Linked DNA regions of Homo sapiens: region 1 is linked to region 2. The links are contacts of gene promoters, found by promoter capture Hi-C in human tissues and cell types (Jung and others, 2019). All regions are on one chromosome and are shown on one strand. The core of a region is centred on a gene start or on the middle of the fragment in contact, and the rest is flanking DNA. Distances in the headings are between cores, read along the strand shown.

Evidence for each region. The method cuts DNA at HindIII sites, captures the fragments that hold promoters and counts their contacts. A contact is called where the count stands out against the background at its distance.
Region 1: a fragment that was not itself captured here is called in contact with the fragment with the promoter of ME3 in region 2 in 2 of the 25 tissues and cell types used here (adrenal gland and neural progenitor cells).

Annotation. Positions count from the first base shown.
Region 1 is chr11:86,590,949-86,594,000 of GRCh38, forward strand. All of the region lies in intron 2 of ME3 (malic enzyme 3), which reads right to left. Among named protein-coding and RNA genes, the nearest start is that of ME3, 80 kb to the right of the region's middle. The HindIII fragment of the contact is 4,062 bases long and covers 1-3,052 here.
Region 2 is chr11:86,671,018-86,674,007 of GRCh38, forward strand. ME3 (malic enzyme 3) reads right to left here and starts at 1,599. Exons shown (of 15, transcript NM_001161586.3): 1 at 1,307-1,599; 2 at 745-941. The coding sequence starts at 927. The HindIII fragment of the contact is 8,709 bases long and covers 1-2,745 here.

The DNA.
Region 1 (3,052 bases), core at 419-2,918, 80 kb before region 2:
AACATAGATTCAAGGTACATTTCAGAGGGAGAGAAAGCAAGATACTATTCCTTCTTGTGTGTTGGGCGATGGGGGGAAGGCAGAAGACATGCAAGCCTGGATGTTTCAAACCTAGTGAGTGGGCTAGAGCTGCTTCCATTTATGTTCCTAAGCACTGCTTTGGCATTTATACTGGAATCCTAAGGGTCAATAAGATATTTTTCCTTTTGTAGGGGTCAGATTAGCTGCCAAAGCACTGGAGGAGTTGGAGGAGTTGGAGGAGTTGCTGACATCAGCCCTTAGAGTTTGGAATATAGCAATACTGCTTTATCTGGATTTTCCACAGGCCCCTGTTATGGGCTGAATTGGGTCCTCCCAAAATTCATGAGATGAAGTGCTTGCCCCTAGTACCTCACAATATGATTGTATTTAAAGATAAGTCATTTAAAAAGGCAGTGGCATTAAAATGGGGTTGTTAGGGTGGACCCAAATCCAATATGATGGGTGTCATAGCAAGAGGAGATTAGAACACAGACAACACAGACAGAGGGACAAGGATCATGTGAGGTCACAGCAGGAAGGTGGCCATCTGTAAGCGAAGGAGAGAGGTTTCAGGAGAAACCAAACCTGTCAGTATCTTGATCTTGGAGATTGTATTACTCTGTTCTCATGCTGCTAATAAAGATATACCCAAGACTGGGCAATTTACAAAATAAAGAGGTTTAATGGACTTACAGTTCCACATGGCTGGGGAGGCCTCACAAGGCAAAAGGCAAGGAGGAGCAAGTCGCATTTTATGTGGATGGCAACAGGCAAACAGAGTTTCTGTGGGGAAACTCCCCTTTTTTAAAATCATCAGATCTCGTGAGACTTATTTGCTTTCATGAGAACAGCATGGGAAAGACCTGCTCCTGTGACTCAATTACCTCCCACCGAGTCTCTCCCACAACACGTGGGAATTCAAGATGAGATTTGGGTGGGGACACAGCCAAACCATATCAGACATCTAGAGTCCAGAACTGTGAGAAAATAAATTTCTATTGTTTAAGCCACCTAGTCTGCAGTGTTTTGTTATGGGAGCCTGAGCAAACTAATACACTTCCTATGAAGAAAATCTCACGTGAAGTCCAAGCCTGTCTGGTCTAAGAGAAAAAAGTCACCACCTGAGAACTGGGACCACATTCTTTGTTCTAATTGTTCCAGCTAGTCCAGCTTCTCCACTAACCTACTTAATCATTACAGACATGGGCACTGTGACAATGATGGCCAGGTGTGTTGGGAATTCAATCACTTGAACAAGAATGTCCCTGGGTTATAACATCCAGGCTGCTGCTTTTTTTTCTAAAGCACCAGACAATTGCTTCACAAAGTTCCCAATAACTCAGCTCTCACCACTTGCTCAAAGCCAGTTTCTTAGGCCTTGAGGGGGGGAAATAGGCTATTTAAACTCAAATGACTATTGAGCTTTGTTGACAAAATACCACTTGGAAGAATAATGTAAATGGAATCCATCTTCAAGGAAGCAAATGTCAAGGAGCACTTCACAAAACCCATGTTCCTCTAGCCACAGTGACTTCATTACTACATCTGAGGGGAGAGAAGTGTGAGTTTAATTAGGTAAACATAGAGACAGTGTTTGGGAATCTCATTGTAACCAGTGAGAAGGCAAGGTTTTCATAGACAATTGCTGGATGCAACTAGGTCAGTCTCCAGATCTGAAATTAAACCCTTTATCTAAGGGTTACTACTTAAGCCAGCAACAAAGGAGCATTTTACCCAATTCCCACTCAGATTTAGAGATGTCAAGTTTTCCTTGTTTCTGACTAGCAACAACAGAAGAAATTAAAACAGCTCAGTCTGGAATATCCCAGGAACCCCCAAACTTAGCAAGATTTGGGGAATATACCACCTAGTCACTCCTTCAGAAAGGGGCACAGTGATGGGGGAGAGCACAGAACGCAGGCATCAAACACACCTGCATTTGAGTCCTGGCTCCATGGGTTACTAAGTGTGTGACTGTGAGCCAGTTATTTAACCTTCCATAGGCCTCAGCTCCCTTATCTATTAACCTGGTGAAATGCAGACCCCTCTGCATGGGGTTACAAGGTTTCAGCATGACTGGGTATGAAAAGAGAACAAAGAAGCTTCCTGGAGATGACTGTGGCCTTGGCTCACTGCCAGGAAAATGACTCATTTCTGTATGCCAGGGTTATAGTTCACTGTTACCCTGACAAATGAATGTGGAAGACCCATGATTTCCTCCACCCTCCTTCACTCACATAGTAAAAGTTAGCTACTGCCTGCAACATACCAGGCACCGTACAACACGAAACTGTAGGCTCCCCCTCCAGGAAGTGACAATGTCATTCCTAACCTGTTGGAATTTTAACACCTGTCATAAAAGGATCTCATGATGCTTTGAATACTTTCTCGAAAGGTGTCACATGCTGCAAGAATAGTAAGGACAGCAACAGCTATCATTTCCTACTTGGGTTGCATGTTTAATATTTCGTAAAACAATACTTTCACATATATCATATGAGCCCCACAAAGGCTCCAGAACTTCAGCATACAACCAGTAAGTTGCAGAACTGGATCACAAGCCCGACCTCCATCTCCCTAAGTTCAATAGGAATTTTCTGATACATTTTCTCCCAAGTTTGAAAGTAATATTACGCACAGAAAAGTTGGAAAAAAATAACCACACCTTATTTTCATCACCCAGAGATAGCCACTGTATCATTTTGTTCTATTTTCTTCCTATCTTTTTTCTATGCTTAAAAAAATTTTATTTAAACAAACTTGAGATCATACTATGTATAAAATTTTTTAGTCTTTTTTCCCCACTAAAAATGTTATGATTAGCATTTTCCCACATACTAAAACTTCAGCCTAAAATGTTATTAAAAAACAGAAAAACACAGCAAGCTTTATCTAGTAATTCCTGTTTTATATAATTGTTTCCAAACTTCCACAATTATGAATTATGCTGTAATGAGCACAAAACTTTTTGTTTCTGATTTTTCTTCAGATTGAACTATAAGTGTACTTAAGAGACTGATGACTCATTCTT
Region 2 (2,990 bases), core at 349-2,848:
ACCAAAGATACTAAACTCTATTCCCAAAAACAAATACAAAAGAGCTAGCGGTGGGTTGAACTCGACCAAAGCATTGGAGATCTGGATTCCAGTGGCAGAGCCAGAACTAACTAGCTGGTGACCTTGGGCAAGTTTCCTTTGTCTTGTTTTTTGTAAAAGAAGAGGTTTAAACTAGGATCTCTAATGCTCCTGCAAGCTCGAAAATTTCTATAAGTCTAGACTTTTCCATCCTTGCTCTCAAATTAATCTTTTTCTCAGAATAATAATCATAACCTTATTTATTCTCCCACTGGGTACCAGGCACTGTTCTAACGTACCCCCATTTTCTACCCGCATTTTCTCTTTAGATCTCACGACATTCCTAAGACAATTATATCTCTTTTACAGATAAGGAAACCTAGGCTCATGTAGGTTAAATGAACTGCCCAAGACCAATAAAATTAGTAAGCATCAAGGGGAGAGCTGACCGCAGGTCAGACTGACCGCGAGGATCTAAACCTGGTCTGTGTTGTTACTGCAGAAGAAATTAGGCTCCCTGCATTACTGGTCGCCTCTCTCCACGCATAAAAGGGAGAGGAGGGACAAGAAAGCCAAACCAAGTCACAACAAGCCCCTGCAAGGCAAAAACAGAAAAACCGCTGGAAGGGCGCCCGGGAGGATCCTTTCTGGGTCCAGGGGGCGGGGCGCAATTTTCCGGCAGCCACGGGATCGCAACGCGGGCCGTCCTGCCCTCTGGCCCATTACCTTGTTGAGATGAGGGTTCCTGGTGACATCGTATCCGCGCTTCTTCAGGGGCACAGGGCGCGCCGGGCCAGGCTTGGAGTGGCAGCCTTGGGCGGGCGCGGTGGGTGTCCAGCGCGGGAGGGCGCCGCAGGCCCGGCCCGGCCAGGGAGCCAGCCGCGTGCCTGTCCCCAGCGCGGCACCCATGGTCCTTGGCAGACCTGGCACGGGAGAGAAAGCAAGGTCAGGGCCTCCTTCCAGCCAGCCAGGACCCACGCGCGCTGCGGGGCACCGGGCCTGATCCGGGGACGCGCCCTCTGGGAGAGGGCAGGTGCTCCCAAAGGGTTAAATGTTCCAGCCCCCGCCACTCCTCGGCTGCCACCTGCTCGGCTCCGCGCGGGGCGCCAGGCCTAGCCAAGAGCCAGGCAAAGCGAAACCAAGCCCTGGAAGCAGATCCGGTGCGGGTGACAGCCGGCGCCACCCCTGCCCCCATCCCTGTGAAAAAGAGGCGACTGCGCGGCGAGGGGTCCCCGTACCCCTAATCCCGCGTGGTGGCTTGCCTCGGTCCTCTCCTTCCCTGGCCCACCTGCGCTGCTCGGGGAGCTGAGGTCTACGCGGTCCCGCTGCGGAGCAGGCGGGGTGAGGAGCTGCGGTCTGTGAGTCCTCTCCCGCCAATGGGTGGACCGCGCTGGCGGCCGCGAGCTCGCGGAGCTGGTGAGTTCCTCAAAGAGCGGTCCCACAACCTTTGTTCTCAGTGCCTGGCTTCCCCTGAGGACGCGCGTGGGGCGCCTCAGCACTGCGTGCACGTGGTTTTCCCCAGTGACAAGAAGCAGCTCAGAATGCCCGCCTGAGACTCTCCATCTTGGCAAGACTAAATGCACAGAGGGGGATTTGCGTTTGGGGGTCAGCATATCCTCGCACTCTCCCAACATTCGGGGAAGGGCGTGCCTTCAGGATTTGGAGTAGAAATCCTCAGGCATTCGGTGCTCAGTGTTGCCTTGTGCTGTCCAATATAATAGCCATTCGCCACGTGTGGCTATATAAACGTAAATAAATTAGTCTATATAGAATAAAATTTAACATCCAGTTCTGCAGTCACGCTAGCCACATTTCCAGTTCAAGAGCCACTTGTATGCAGATACAGAACATTTCTGTTTTTGCGGATACTTCTATTAAGCATCATTGACATAGGAGCCACAGTTACTAAGAGGACTTCTGAGGACCCCATGGAGTTTGCCATGGGTTATTGGGGCCAGACAGGGATCTTGGGGTCCATCTAGCCCCAAACTTAATTTTATACTTTCTCCACACAGTAGTCAGGAGATTCCTTTTAAAGCAAACACTTTGTTGTGTGTGGAATAAAATCCAAACTTTCAGGGCCTACAAGATTTCCCATAAACTGGCTCTTGCCAGCCTCTTCAGACTTATCCTACTCTACTCTTTCCTTCTCACTGATCTCTGGCCATACTTGATCCTTCCTGTGTCTTCACCCCACTTGGTTCCCTCCCACTGCAGGGCCTTTGCACTTGCTATTGCCTCTCCTTGGAAGGCTCATACTCCAGCCTTGCAAACCACTACTTCATTCCCACCTCTCAGTTCTCCACTAAGTTGTCAACTCGAAGGCCTTTCCTCTATCCCATTCAATGTCAGCCTGCACTAGGAACTATAGAGTGAAGGGGTTTTTCTCTTTAGAGAACTTAACACAGTCAGTAGCGCGCTTGTTTTTCTGATTGTTTACTGACTATCTCCTGTCTAGAATGTAAGCTTCATGAAGAGAGGCTCTTTGCCTGTGAACCTGTGTGTCCTCACTGCCTAGCTCACTGCCTGGTATGTAGTTGCACAATAAATAGTTGTTAGGTGAAGGGAAGTGGCAGCCACTTTCATAAGGATCGTGAACCCTTAGACTTACTGACAGACAGTTGGCACGGTCCTCTGCTGACACCCCTTCAAAGCTCCCGGTGCCAGCATTAGCCCCGTTGTAAGTACCAAGCAGACATCATGGCCCATAATGTGCTAAGGGGTGCTCCTGCCTGAGTTCAGGATTCCCTCATCCCTTCAGGAATAATCGTCTCCTCCTGCAGTCTCTCTCCTCCCTGTGTAATATCTAATTTTCAACTTGAATGATCTACGTAAAATAGTTATTTCCAAAACAGAATTACAATTACCTGGTAGGAAATAAGGATGGGGCAAAAATACAGCTTTCCAGGCCCCATCCATGAAGATTCTCATCCAGTAGGGTTTACATCCCTGAAGTCAGGTTTACTCTTGGA